5 separate regions of the Homo sapiens genome follow, and regions 2, 3, 4 and 5 are each linked to region 1. Evidence: promoter capture Hi-C in human tissues and cell types (Jung and others, 2019). All regions are on one chromosome and are shown on one strand. The core of a region is centred on a gene start or on the middle of the fragment in contact, and the rest is flanking DNA. Distances in the headings are between cores, read along the strand shown. Region 1 holds the start of NOM1 (nucleolar protein with MIF4G domain 1). Region 2 overlaps DNAJB6 (DnaJ heat shock protein family (Hsp40) member B6). Region 3 has its middle 5.0 kb from the start of DNAJB6. Region 4 overlaps UBE3C (ubiquitin protein ligase E3C). Region 5 overlaps UBE3C (ubiquitin protein ligase E3C).

Region 1 (2,664 bases), core at 88-2,587:
TAAAACCTATAAGGAAAATGGACAAAGGCCATAAACAGAGGAGGAAATACAAATGGCCAGTGAACAAAGACACCCACTCTCATCAGGAACTAAATGACAAGATGCCATTTTGAGCTGACAAGTTGACAAAAATTAAATCATTTTAAAGTCAAGGACGGGCCGGGCGCGGTGGCTTGCCTGTAATCCCAGCACTTTGGTCCGCCATTGCACTCCGGCCTGGGCAACAGAGTGAGACTCGGTCTCAAGAAAAAAAAAAGAAAAAAAATTAAATTAAATTAAATTAAGTCAAGGGTGGGAACTCTGTGGAAATGAAGCTTCTGAAGCTGTCCGGGAAGAGAAGCGGCCCCTGGTCAGGCCGAGAACCCCACAGCAGCAGCCCCGTCTTCCCCCAGCTCACTGCTAGGCGAGGCTGCTCCTGCGCCTCCGGGCTTCCCAAAAATCCAGACGCAAACTGCGCGGCCTCTGCGTTCGCTTCCCGGTTCAAGTTACCCAGTAAAGAGGAACCTCAAACGCTCTGCCCTCGGGGCCCAGCGTCCAAACCCAGCCTGGGCAGGGCCGGCTCCTCAGGGGTCCTCGGCCGCCTGGGGGCCACAGGCGTCTCCCTGGTCCGTATCCAGAGCCTGCTTCTCAGGAGAACGCTGGCTCTGGGGCCAGTCCTAACCCACGAGGGCTCCTCTCGACCACATCTGCAAAGGCCCTATTTCCAAATAAGGTCGCATTCCTGGGTCCTGGGCGGACACGAACCTGGGGCCCGCGCATCCCAGCGTCGTCGCCGCCGCCAACCTCCGGCACCGCGCCGACCCGCGCGGAGTCTCCCCTCCATCATACGCGAGGATTTCCCTTTGGAGTCTCGCTCTGTCGCCCAGGCTGGAGTGCAATGGCGCCATTTCGGCTCACTGCAACCTCCGCCTCCGTGGTTCAAGCGATTCTCCTGCCTCAGCCTCCGAGTAGCTGGGATTACAGGCGCGTGCCCCCACGCTCAGCTAATTTTTGTAGGGGGGTGGGTGGGTTTCACCAGGTTGGCCAGGCTGGTCTCGAACTCCTGACTTCAGGTGATCCACCCGTCTCGGCCTCCCAAAGTGCTGGGATTACAGGCGTGAGCCACCGCGCCCGGCCGGATTTCCCTTTTAAATGTGAAGGCACCTCCATGCTCATCGCGAGCCTGACGTCCACGCGGCGCCCACCCGCGGGCGCGCCTGCCCCGGGCGCCACCTGCCCGGCTGCCCCCGCACCCGGCTCCGCGCAGCTCTGCACGCTGTCGCCCTCCGGCCAGCAGGGGGCGCCGCCCGCCCGCCCCGCGCAGCCGCCTCTTCCCCGGAAGTCCCGCCTCGGCCGGAAGTCGTGCGTCCACGCGTTTCGAAAGATGGCGGCGTCCAGGAGCGCGGGAGAGGCCGGCCCGGGCGGCTCCCAGGGACGCGTGGTCCGCATGAAGCGCAGAGGCGGGCGCGGGCCGCGCCGCGGTCCTGCTGGCGGTGGGGAGAAGGCCCTGAAGAGGCTGAAGCTAGCGGTGGAGGAGTTCGTGCACGCGACTTCGGAAGGCGAGGCTCCCGGGGGTTGCGAGGGGCGCGGCGCCCCGGTGAGCTTTCGCCCGGGAGGGAGAAAAAGCCGTAAGGAACTGAGGAAGGAGAAGCGGCACCTGCGGAAAGCACGCCGGCTGCAGAGGACGGCGGGCCCCGAACAGGGTCCCGGCCTGGGAGGCCGAAGCGGAGCCGAAGAAGCCAGCGGTCACCGGCAGGACACGGAGGAGCGCGCCCGCCCAGCCCCTAGTCGGGACCCCTCGCCTCCCAGGAAGCCGCGGCCGTCCCGGGTCAAGGCCAAGGCCACGGCCGCCACCGCAAAGACCAGACCCTCCGCAGCCGCCACCGCCGCTGCCCGGAAACGGGCGCTTTTAGCGGCGAACGAGGAGGAGGACCGAGAGATCCGAAAGCTGGAGCGTTGCCTCGGTTTGAACAAGCGCAAAAAGAAGGACGGCAGCAGCTCCGTGCCGCTGAGCTTTGCACGCGACGGTCTTGACTATATTCTGGGAGCCCTGGAGTCTGGGAAAAATAGCGGCTTGTACGACAGCAGTGGTGAGGAGGAGGAAGATGCCGGACAGACACTCCCCGAAAGTGACTTAGAGAGTGACTCCCAGGACGAAAGTGAGGAGGAGGAGGAGGGAGACGTAGAAAAGGAAAAGAAGGCGCAGGAAGCAGAAGCGCAGAGCGAGGACGACGACGAGGATACAGAAGAGGAACAGGGGGAAGAAAAGGAAAAGGGAGCGCAGGAGAAAAGGAGGGGGAAGAGAGTCCGTTTTGCAGAAGATGAAGAAAAGAGTGAAAATTCCTCGGAGGACGGTGACATAACGGATAAGGTATCGTGTGAACACTCTCTAGGCCCTCTGGGATTTCCTTCAAAATAACGGGACAGGGAATGGGGCGTGAGGCAGAAATGACACAGACTTGGTGTCTTGATAATGGTTTCAGCTGAATGTGAGTAAATCGAGTACGTTACTCTATTCGGTCTTCTTTCATGTTTTTAAATTTTCATAATGTAAAGTTTAGGAGAAAAGCAATATAGAGACATTTTTATCCCGGGGACTTAAGGGCCATTTCCACAGTGCAGCATCTTCATTCTGTGTTTACCAGCCCAGGTCTCTAAACCTGTTAACCCTACCTCATCTGTTAA
Region 2 (2,664 bases), core at 83-2,582, 410 kb after region 1:
AGACAAGGTCTTGGCCCAGCAGGCTAGTGGTTAGCTCTAGTGGAAGTTCCCTCTGTAGGCCAGTAGGTGCTAAGGTGACACCACCCCTTCCTCCCTCTCCAGACCCATCCCACCACCGTGATTTGCCCATCCCCAGCAGCCTCATCACTGACCACCTGTTTTTACTTGCAGGACCCATTCCAACAATCTCGTAAAACATGGTGGATTACTATGAAGTTCTAGGCGTGCAGAGACATGCCTCACCCGAGGATATTAAAAAGGCGTAAGTAGTTTTATTTCTGTGGTAATGCATTTTCACAGTGGTACATTGGTAATTGAGTAGTATAACTTCTTCTATTGCCTATGAAAATGGCTTTTAATGTAGTATACCAGTCTTTGAATGCCACATAGTTTAATTTGACAGAGCAGTTAACGAGCATTTGCAGTCTAGGCCTGGGCTTTGCTCTTCATTAGTCAGTCACTTGGTTTATATCTGAAGTTGATGATTGTTTCACTGAGGATGTGAGATAATCCCAAACATCTTTTACATTGGACTTTGAAAATGGAGCTGACTTGGCATTCTTGAGTGCCCCTTTGGAAGGCAGGGGCCCAGAGTACATAGCACTCAAATTTTCTTGTTGTGATTGTTGGGCTCCGGCCTATGCCACTGGAGTCCCTTCTGATTCATATGAAAGTTCGAGAACTGCAGCGCTGCCTGTGGTACCTGCATCTGTGTGACCAGGGCCTGGCCATTGTGAGGAGGGCAGTTCAGCCACAGAAGGCTCTCACGGTAACCTTAGTCTGTTTAATTAATGAGGTGTTAACTGTGAATGTAGAGTATACAGCAAAGACGTCATGAAACAGATTGTTAGATTTTAACATAGCTAGAGAGCAGTTAGCCTGGAATAGTTGGAACCAACTTAAAAAAATTGTTAATAAATAATGGAGTGTCTATACTGCTAGACTTAGTGGGTCTGAAGATAGAATTAACTTTTTTGGGGGCCAAATAGTTCATTTTGCTTAATTTTTAAATTTTAATAAAAATACAGAGTCTCAATATGTTGCTCAGGCTGGTCTCAAACTCCTGGGCTCAAGCGATTCTCTTGCCTTGGCCTCCCAGATTGCTGCGGTTATATTTGTGAGCCACTGTGTGTAGCTGAGATAGTTCATTTTAAAATGCTAAATTACGGCCAGGCAAGTGGCTCACACCTCTAATCCTAGCACTTCGAGAGGCCTAGGTGGGAGGGTCACTGGAGCCCAGGGGTTTGAGACCAGCCTGGGCAACAAAATGAGATACTGTCTTGACCAAAAAAAAATAGTTGGGTGTGGTGGCACATGCCTGTAGTCCCAACTGCTCCAGAGGCTGAGGCAGGAGAATTGCTTGAGCCCAGGAGGTTGAGGCTGCAGTGAGCTATGTTCGTGCCACTGTGTTCCAGCTTGGGCAACCAAGCCGAGACCCTGTCTCAAAAAAGCCAAGTCAGGATGGCTGACGTTGCCTGAAGGTTATTTGAAACCTCTGCCGAGGAACCTAGTAGAAGCAGTCTACTGAGGAGAGGTCAGGCAGGCCCTGATGCTGTCACTAGTAGAGTGAGGTTTCCCACACTGTGAGGAAGCCTGTGCTGCACACTTGAGGCTCACACTATTCTTATCAGTAATGTTAACAGCCAGGCATACTTGACAGATTATAAGACGAAGACAGTTGGGAATACCTTACTCCTCTCGAATAAGTTAATGGATGTATTAGTCTGTTTTTACGCTGCTGATAAAGACGTACCTGAGACTGGGAAGAAAAGGAGGTTTAATTTGACTTACAGTTCCACATGGCTGGGGAGGTCTTACAATCATGGAGGAGGGCGAAAGACACTTCTTACATGGCGACAGCAAGAGAATGAGGAAGAAGCAAAAGCGGAAACCCCTTATAAACCCATCAGGTCTTGTGAGGCTTATTATCAGGAGAATAGCACGGGAAAGACTAGTCCCCATGATTCAGTTACCTCCCCCTGGGTCCCTCGCATAACACCTGGGAGTTCTGGGAGTTACAACTCAAGTTGAGATTTGGGTGGGGACATAGCCAGCCCTTATCAATGGATAAGCATAATATGTGTACAGTGCTTTCAGTAATGATGGAAATTACATACCTTTATGATAGAGGTCATTAGAGAGTAGATTGGTTTTAGTTGTTTCTGAGAACATACAGGTTGCTGAGTGTCTCTAGCATGACGTTGAAGTAGGAATTTAGAAAAGGCTGTTACCTTTAAAAGCAGTGAGATTTCCTGCACTCCTGAGTGTACAGTTGTATAAATGCTGACTTTTAAAAATGAGCAGAATGATAGCTATGGGGGCGTGCTGTTAGTCTATCTTGTGTACCCTTGGCTTTGTGTGTTGACAGTTTTTGATTGAAGACTTAAAGGTCTGTGGCTGCCACCTGTTCTGCATCTCTCCTGAGATACCAGACTCTTCCTGGGTTTGAGTCACACACCATGGGCCTTCCTTCCTTGGTGCTGAAGTACTGGTGTGCAGGTCCAACAGATCTGAAGGTCAACATTCAAAGTCATTTGGCACTGTTTACACTTGCATATCGTGTTGTATTACACCTTGATTTTTAAATATTTTAGTAGTGTATGACTGGGGCATACACAGTTGAATCTTGTCCTGCATTCTCATCCATTGCCAAGTTTTCATATG
Region 3 (2,664 bases), core at 112-2,611, 380 kb after region 1:
CCACCCACCTTGGCCTCCCAAAGTGCTGGGATTATAGGCATGAGCCACTGCACCCTGCCTAAAAACAATTTTTTTTTTTTTTGAGACAGTGTCACACTGTCACCCGGGCTGGAGTGCAATGGCGCAATCTCGGCTCACTGCAACCTCCGCTGCCCGGGTTCACAAGATTCTCCTGCTTCAGCCTCCCGAGTAGCTGGGATTACAGGTGCACACCACCACACCTGGCTAATTTTTTGTATTTTTAGTAGAGATGGGGTTTCACTATGTTGGCCAGACTGGTCTCAAACTCCTGACCTTGTGATCCGCCCACTTTGGCCTCCCAAATTGCTGGCATGAGTCACTGAACCTGCCAAAACAATTTTAAAGCTAAAGAAAAGTTAAAAGAATAGAATAGGCTGAGTGTGGTAGCTCATGCCTGTAATCCCAGCACTTTGGGAGGCTGAGGCAGGTGGATCACTTGAGGTCAGGAGTTTGAGAACAGCCTGACCAACATGGTTAAACCCCACCTCTACTGAAAATACAAAAATGAGCCGGGCTTGGTGGTGCATGCTTGTAATCCCAGCTATTTGGGAGGCTGAGGTGGCAGTATTGCTTATACCCACTTGAACCGTGGAGGCGGAGGTTGCAGTGAGCTAAGATCATGCCACTTCCCTCCAGCCTGGGCGATAGAGCAAGACTTCGTCTCAAAAAAAAAACGTGTGTGTATATATATACGTTTATGTCTATTAAACATATATATTTTGATATTTTTATTAAACATATATATTTTAAAAACATATTAAACATATATACCATTTTGATATTTTTTATTAAGCATATATATGTTTAACAGGCAATATATTCACATAGTTTAAAACATATTCAGTGAACATCATTTTACCCTCAGCCCCCTCTTCTCTGTATTTTCTGCCCCACTCCCCAATGTCTTAAGTGTAATTGCAGAGTTTCTTATACAAATGCATGTTCTTTTTCTTTCTCTCCTTGCTATACACACTGTTCTAATGTTTTAAACCTTGCCTTTTTTTCTTACTTAGCAATATATCTTGATGATGATAAGATAAAGTGATTTCTAAGAATATATGTGAATAATTCTGTAATACAGTGAAAGTTCCTTACTCCTGGCCTCAAGTCATCCTCCCACCTCAGTTTTCCAAAGTGCTGGGATTATAGGCATGAGAAAGTTCCTGTTTAGTGTGTTTGAATAATCAGGGATTAAGCCAATATTTGTCTTTTTTAAAGCTAACATTTCTAAAATGAGCAGTGGGTAATTTATTTTGATGGCAGGAAACGTAACAAGTAAAGCACTTATATATAGGACTCTTCAAAGGTAATCAAATTTTAGGTATTCTTTGACAGTTTTGATTTACATACTTTCCTCTGAGGGTTTGAGCACAGGGATTTCATTAGAGAAACATTAAATAAGTATGTGTGTGAGATACCACAGTTCTCATACACTGCCCTGTTTATTTCTGATACCAGTATAGTAGCTATCCGTAGCTATCCTTCTTCCTATTTTACAGATAGGGAAACCGAGGCTTGTTGATGTGGGTAAAGTCAGTGCGTCATCAGCCCTAAAGTTTTATTGGGCATCAGGGGATGTGGGCACCACAGGGAACCATGCCTCGCACCCCTGTGGCCACTCAGCCTCCAGTCTGGCCCCAGTCAGCACTGGGTCCTCTTCCCTCTGCCCTGCAGCCTCTGTGCTTGCTGGCCCATGAAGCTTCTCGGTCCACTTTTGGCCTTGAACATTTCAGCTGCCCTCAACCCCCGGGGCTCCCTGCAAGCCATTACCCCAAATCCATCCACATTCTCCACGCTCCTCCTTTCTTTCTTTTATTTTTTGAGACGGAGTTTCACTCCTGTTGCCCAGGCTGGAGTGCAATGGCACGATATCATCTCACCGTGACCTCCACCTCCTAGGTTCAAGTGATCCTCCTGCCTCGGCCTCCCGAGTAGCTGGGATTACAGGTATGCGCCACCACGCCCGGCTACTTTTTGTATTTTTAGTAGAGACCAGGTTTCACCATGTTGACCAGGCTGGTCTTGAACTCCTGACCTCAGGGGATCTGCCCACCTCGGCCTCCCAAAGTGCTGGGATTATAGGCGTGAGCCACCGCACTCGGTCTCCAAAGACTTTTCACTCCTACTTAAATCTTTTCTGGGATAAATCCTTGTCATTGAAAGACCTCGTTGTTTCAAAAGAGTTAATTAAATATTACCATTTAATCTCCAAGGTGTTTATACCTGTCCTCCCTAACTGCTATGTGAAGTCCATCAGGATGGGGACCTTGTTTTGTACTGGTTGCTTTTCTTCATGATAAAATTTATTGTATTGACATGCTTCTTAAAAATTATGTATGTATTTGTTTAGAGACAGAGTCTTGCTCTGGCACCCAGGCTGCAGTGCCATGACATGATCACTGTTCACTGCAGCCTCGACCTCCTAGTCTCAAGTGCTCAAGTGGTCCTCTTACTCAGCCTCTTGAGTAGCTGGGACTATAGGTGTGTGCCACCATGCCCAGAAAATTTTCTTTTTTCTTTTTTTTTCCTGAGACAGAGTCTTGCTTTGTCACCCAGGCTAGAGTGCAGAAGCACGATCTCTGCTCACTGCAACCTCTGCCTCCCGGGTTCAAGCAATTCTCCTGCCTCAGCCTCCTGTGTAGC
Region 4 (2,664 bases), core at 82-2,581, 310 kb after region 1:
TGCTTTAAAGACCACTTCATAATAAGAAAGGCAGCAGAACATTCAGTAGGGTTAAATGAAGTCCTTTTACATACACTTTTGTTTTTATCTTCAGCTAGATTTTTAATTAAGTACTGGTTATGATGTATATATTTTGGTGCTAGTTTTATTTGGGGTTGCTTTTTTTGTTTGTTCACAATAACCTAGTCATATGATAGTTACACATTGTGGTTATGATTGCCTGTGAACAAACCGTACATTTGGAGGGACTATTTGCAATATTAATAATGTCTCATAAATCTGTAACACATCTTGGGCTTTTTGCTACTGAACTGAAGCAGGTACAACGTAGAGATGTTGATGGAGTGTATATGCTACTGAGCCTTATTTTACCACTTCTGGAAATTAATGTTGATCTTACGTAATTTGGCTTATTTTTAGCAATTAAAATTGCCTCAGGCAGATGGATCATTTGAAGTCAGGAGTTCGAGACCAGCCTGGTCAACATGATGAAACCCTGTCTTTGCTAAAAATACAGAAAAATGAGCCAGGCATGGTGCCCTGTGCCTGTAATCCCAGTTACTTGGGAGGCTGAGGCACGAGAATTGCTTGAACCCAGGAGGTGGAGGTTGCAGTGAGCCGAGATCGCGCCACTGCACTGCACTCCAGCCTGGGTGACAGAGTGAGACCCTGTCTCCAAAAAAAAAAAAAAAAAAAAATTGCCTCAGGAACGTCTAATCATAATTCCTGTATTCACTGTAAATTAAAATAAAGCCATATTAACATTTAAAAATGCACACAGTGGTATATATATTATAGAATAATATATAATTAGATAAGTACTGTATGTGATTTGTGCTTATGAAACTTCATAGGCATTCACTTTCTTTTTTCCTTTTTTCTTTTTTTTTTTTTTTAAGTAAGATGAGCACTCGCTGTATCACCCAGGCTGGAGTGCAGTGGTGTGATCACGGCTCACTGCAGCCGCAGCCACCCAGGCTGAAGCAATCTGCCCACCTCAGCCTCCCAAGTAGCTGTGACTACAGGCATGTACCACCATGCCTGGCTGACATTTTGATTTTTTGTAGAGAAGGGTTTCACTGTATTCCCCAGGCTGGCCTCCAACTCCTGGGCCCAAGAAATCCTCTCACTTCAGCCTCCCAAGGTGCTGGGATGACAGGTGTGAGCCACCACACCATGCCCAGCTGGCATTCACCTTCAAATAACCTTCAATCAGAAAGAGTTCCTGCACACTCATGTAGTCCCAGCTACTCTTGAGGCTGAGGTAGGAGGATTAGTTGAGCCCAGGAGTTTAAGACCAACCTGGGCAATGTAGTAGCGAGATCCTGTCTCAAGGGGGAAAAAGTAATGTTAAGGTTTTTTGCTTTGTTGTTGTTGTTGCTGTTTTGTTTGTTTCTTTGTTTTTGAGACGGAGTTTTACTCTGTCGCCCAGGCTGGAGTGCAGAGGGCAATGGCGTGATTTCCGCTCACTGCAACCTCTGCCTCACAGGGTCAAGCAATTCTCCTGCCTCAGCCTCCTGAATAGCTGTGATTACAGGCGTGCGCCTCCATGCCCGGCTAATTTTTGTATTTTTAGTAGAGACGGGGTTTCACCATGTTGGCCAGGCTGGTCTCAAACTCCTGACCTCAGGTGATCCACCTACCTCAGCCTCCCAAAGTGCTGGGATTACAGGTATGAGCCATCATGCCCGGCCCCCCAAGTATTTTTTTATATTTCTGAGTGAAGCTATTCTTTAACTTTTTACTTCGAAACTATTTTAAATGTATAGAAAAGTTGTGAGAATTGACCAAATAACTTCTAAACCCGCACTGACCAATTGTTAACATTTTGCTACATTTACTTTATCATTCTTTTCATGCATTTCTTTCCTGAATCATTTGAGAATAGGTTGAAGACATGAGGTCTTCCCTAAATATCTCAGCACATACTTCCTAAGAACAGAGACAGTTTTGAAACGGCCACAATTAAATTATTACAAGTCAGGAAATTGAACTCTGACATACGGCACTTACCTTATCGAATCCACTGGCTGCACAGTGTGGTCCTGGGACCAGCAGCTGCAGCATCACTTGAGCACATGTTAAAAATGAACATTTTCAGGCCCCACTCAGACCTGAGTCAGCGCTCAGTGGGAGCGGAGCCCCGCAGTCACGTTGTGACCAGCTCTTCAGGTGTTAGGCCGGTTGTCCCTTCGCGTCCTTCATAGAATCTGATCCAGGACCACACGTTGCATTTAATTGGCGTGCTCTTTAGTTTCCTTTCTTCTGTACCCCCATTTTCAAGGGGTGCAGGCAAGTTATCTTGAGAATGTTCGTCAATGTGATGTCGCAGCCCCACCGTTGGGAGTGTACAGATGGCAACATATTTTCACACAGTGTGTTTATGAATGTTCAGAGCAAGCCTTCATAATGGCCAAAAACGAAATAATTCACAGTACATGAACTGCTAGTAAATACTATAGATTAAGAGATATTTAGAATTTAAAAGGAATAAATGATATCTACTACACTGTGTATGAACATTGAAAACACTGTGCTAAGTGAACGAAGCAAGACACAAGACTACGTATTATTATATGTAATTCCACTCGGATAAACTGTCCTTTGAAAGGCACATTTAGAGACACAGAGCGGGTCAGGGGCTGCACAGGGCTGGAGGTGGCA
Region 5 (2,664 bases), core at 120-2,619, 280 kb after region 1:
TAGTATGTCAGAGCTTCACTCATTTGAAGGGCCAAATCTTATTTCATTGTATGGATATACCACACTTTGGGGTTTGTTTTTTTCATTTTGAAACAGGTCTTTCTCTGCCACCTAGGCTGGAGTGCACTGCTACAAACACGGCTCAGTCCTGCGCTTAAGGAGGCCTCCTGCTTTCAGCCTCCCGAGTAGCTGGGACCACCGTTGCTTGCTACCACACCTGGCTAATTATTTCATTTTATCGTAGAGGCAGGGTCTTGCCATGTTGCCCAGGCTGGTCTTGAACTCCTGGCGTCAAGCAATCCTCCTGCCTCAACCTCTCAAAAGGCTAGAATTACAGGTGTGAGCCACCACACCCAGTCACCGCATTTTGTTTACTTACTCATCCCAGGCTGGAGTGCAGTGGTGCATTTGCATTGGGAATTTGCATTGTTTCCACCTTTTAGCTATTGTGAATAATGTTACTGCAAACATTTGTATACAAGCTGTTATTTGGACATAGGTTTTTTGTTTTTCTTGGGCATATACCTAGACATGGAAGTGTTAGGTCATACAGTACTCCACGTCAAAGTGTCTGCAACCTTTTACAATCCCACCAACAATTTGTGAAGGTTTCAGTGACTCCACATCGTTGTCAGCACTTACTTAGTGTTGTCTTTTTCATTACAGCCATTCTAGTGGGTGGGAATTGGTATCTCATTGTGGTTTTAATTTCCCTGGTGACTAATAATGTTGACCATCTTTTCATGTGCTTCATGACTTCTGTTGAGAAATGTCTATTCAAGTCCATTGCCTATTTTTTTATTGGATTGTCTTTTATTATTAAGTCCCTGCAATGCAATGAATTATGAAATTTATATTCTCTGAGGAAGCTGAAACATTGTCAGATAAATGATTTGCAAGTATTTTCTTCTCTGGATTGTCTCTTCACTTTCATGATGATTTCCTTTGAAGAACGAACATTTTTAATTTTGAAGTCTAACGTGTTTTTTTCTTTTATTGCTTGTTTTTGATGTCTTATCCATTCCCTGACCTAAAATCACAAAGATTTACACCTGTATGTTCTTCTGACGGTGTTGTAGTTTTAGCTCTTACATTTTGGTCTTTGATCCTTTTTGAGTTAATTTTTGTAGATTGTATGAGTTAGGCATCCTCATATTCTTGGCACCCTTGTTGAAAATTAGTTGACCGTACACGTAACACTCTGGGTCTGCCCTTATGCAGTATGGTCTTGATTACTGTAGCTTTGCAGTATGGGGTGTGTGGATTTATTAATAGCAGATGGGAGTAGAACCGCAGCCTTGTTAAGCAGGGATAATGGGAAGGAATCAGTCTATCCTGGATATAGAATAATTCCCCTTTATTTGTGTCTCTTTGAAATGCATTGTCGTAGCCCCAGTTATTTCTTTGTTCAGACTCCCAGTGATTTTAAGTGCTCTTCAGGTTTGAGAAAGGGCTCCAACCTGACTTCACTACCGTAACGGTATGTGTTATATCATCATCTTCAGGCTCACCGTATTTCAGGTGGCAGATTTCAGGTGTTGATTTGATGTTGATTTGTGAGTTGGCTTTGGTGGCAGTTTTCAGATAGCATCTCTCTCTTTGTTGATGGTCACACAGCCTACTTCTCAGTTTCAGCTTCCCCTGGAGGATGTACATTTCATAATTCATTGTATGAAAATCTTTACAATGGGCCAGGCATGGTGGATCACACCTGTAATCCCAGCACTTTGGGAGGCCTAGGCAGGCGGATCACCTGAGGTCGGGAGCTCGAGACCAGCCTGACCAACATGGAGAAACCCCGTCTCTACTAAAAATACAAAATTAGCTGGGCGTGGTGGTGCATGCCTTTAATCCCAGCTACTCCAGAGGCTGAGGCAGGATAATGGCTTGAACCTGGAGGCGGAGGTTGTGGTGAGCCAAGGCCTTACCATTGCACTCCAGCCTGGCAACAAGAGCAAAACTCTGTCTCAAATTAAAAAAAAGAAAAGAAAAGAAAATCTTTACAATGAAATCCCTTAGTTCTTTCTGTTAAAGTGAGCCCAAGAACCTTCTAACTTAATATATATGTGAAAATAAAGGTGAGTGTTCTGCTAGACTAACCTGAAATACTCTAAACTTGGTGGTTTTTACACAGTACAGTCACAGAAGATAGAGCAATAATTTTACCTGCATGAATTAAATCTTAAGATTATATATTACTTTTTCTTCCTGAATGTATAAATCATCCAGTCTTGATTAATGTAGAAGCTAATAGTTATGTAAGTCTGGTGAGGATAAACTCATTTCTCCTCTGTTTATTGACATATTGCTTATAATTGAAATTATTCTGAAGATGATGTCATTGTACAGTTCTGTACTTTGGAATATGTATATATTTACAGAAGATCCAGGGAAGAGAATTTGTGATTTTAAACCTTTCTCCCACAAATGAAGTTTATGTAAGTTATATCTTATTAAGGCTGTTTAAAATAATAAAGTTTAGACCAATAACAAAACTAAGAGTAATTTGAGGATGGTAGTTAACTTAGTTTCACATATTTAAGACTTCCCTTACATTACTCTCTGTGTGGAAATTCCTAAGGGGTTACTAACTTCCAAAACATATCTGATGACCATCTGATTACAGAGTTAAACTTTGTGCTAATGTGCTAACCATTGCTCGGA

Evidence for each region. Contacts are between HindIII fragments. The study calls those that stand out against the background at their distance.
Region 2: a fragment that was not itself captured here is called in contact with the fragment with the promoter of NOM1 in region 1 in 1 of the 25 tissues and cell types used here (spleen).
Region 3: a contact is called between a fragment that was not itself captured here and the fragment with the promoter of NOM1 in region 1, in 1 of the 25 tissues and cell types used here (lymphoblastoid cells).
Region 4: a contact is called between a fragment that was not itself captured here and the fragment with the promoter of NOM1 in region 1, in 1 of the 25 tissues and cell types used here (lymphoblastoid cells).
Region 5: a fragment that was not itself captured here is called in contact with the fragment with the promoter of NOM1 in region 1 in 1 of the 25 tissues and cell types used here (dorsolateral prefrontal cortex).

What each region holds. Positions count from the first base shown.
Region 1 is chr7:156,948,375-156,951,038 of GRCh38, forward strand. It overlaps NOM1 (nucleolar protein with MIF4G domain 1), which reads left to right and starts at 1,338. Exons shown (of 11, transcript NM_138400.2): 1 at 1,338-2,350. The coding sequence starts at 1,364. RefSeq lists an enhancer at 490-1,018 and silencers at 1,079-1,428, 1,709-1,758. The HindIII fragment of the contact is 15,987 bases long and covers 1-2,664 here.
Region 2 is chr7:157,358,376-157,361,039 of GRCh38, forward strand. DNAJB6 (DnaJ heat shock protein family (Hsp40) member B6) reads left to right here. Exons shown (of 10, transcript NM_058246.4): 2 at 172-262. The coding sequence starts at 198. Among named protein-coding and RNA genes, the nearest start is that of DNAJB6, 23 kb to the left of the region's middle. The HindIII fragment of the contact is 9,556 bases long and covers 1-2,664 here.
Region 3 is chr7:157,330,639-157,333,302 of GRCh38, forward strand. No RefSeq gene overlaps it. Among named protein-coding and RNA genes, the nearest start is that of DNAJB6, 5.0 kb to the right of the region's middle. The HindIII fragment of the contact is 3,436 bases long and covers 1-2,664 here.
Region 4 is chr7:157,257,066-157,259,729 of GRCh38, forward strand. All of the region lies in intron 22 of UBE3C (ubiquitin protein ligase E3C), which reads left to right. Among named protein-coding and RNA genes, the nearest start is that of DNAJB6, 79 kb to the right of the region's middle. The HindIII fragment of the contact is 8,398 bases long and covers 1-2,664 here.
Region 5 is chr7:157,233,221-157,235,884 of GRCh38, forward strand. All of the region lies in intron 18 of UBE3C (ubiquitin protein ligase E3C), which reads left to right. Among named protein-coding and RNA genes, the nearest start is that of UBE3C, 96 kb to the left of the region's middle. The HindIII fragment of the contact is 7,981 bases long and covers 1-2,664 here.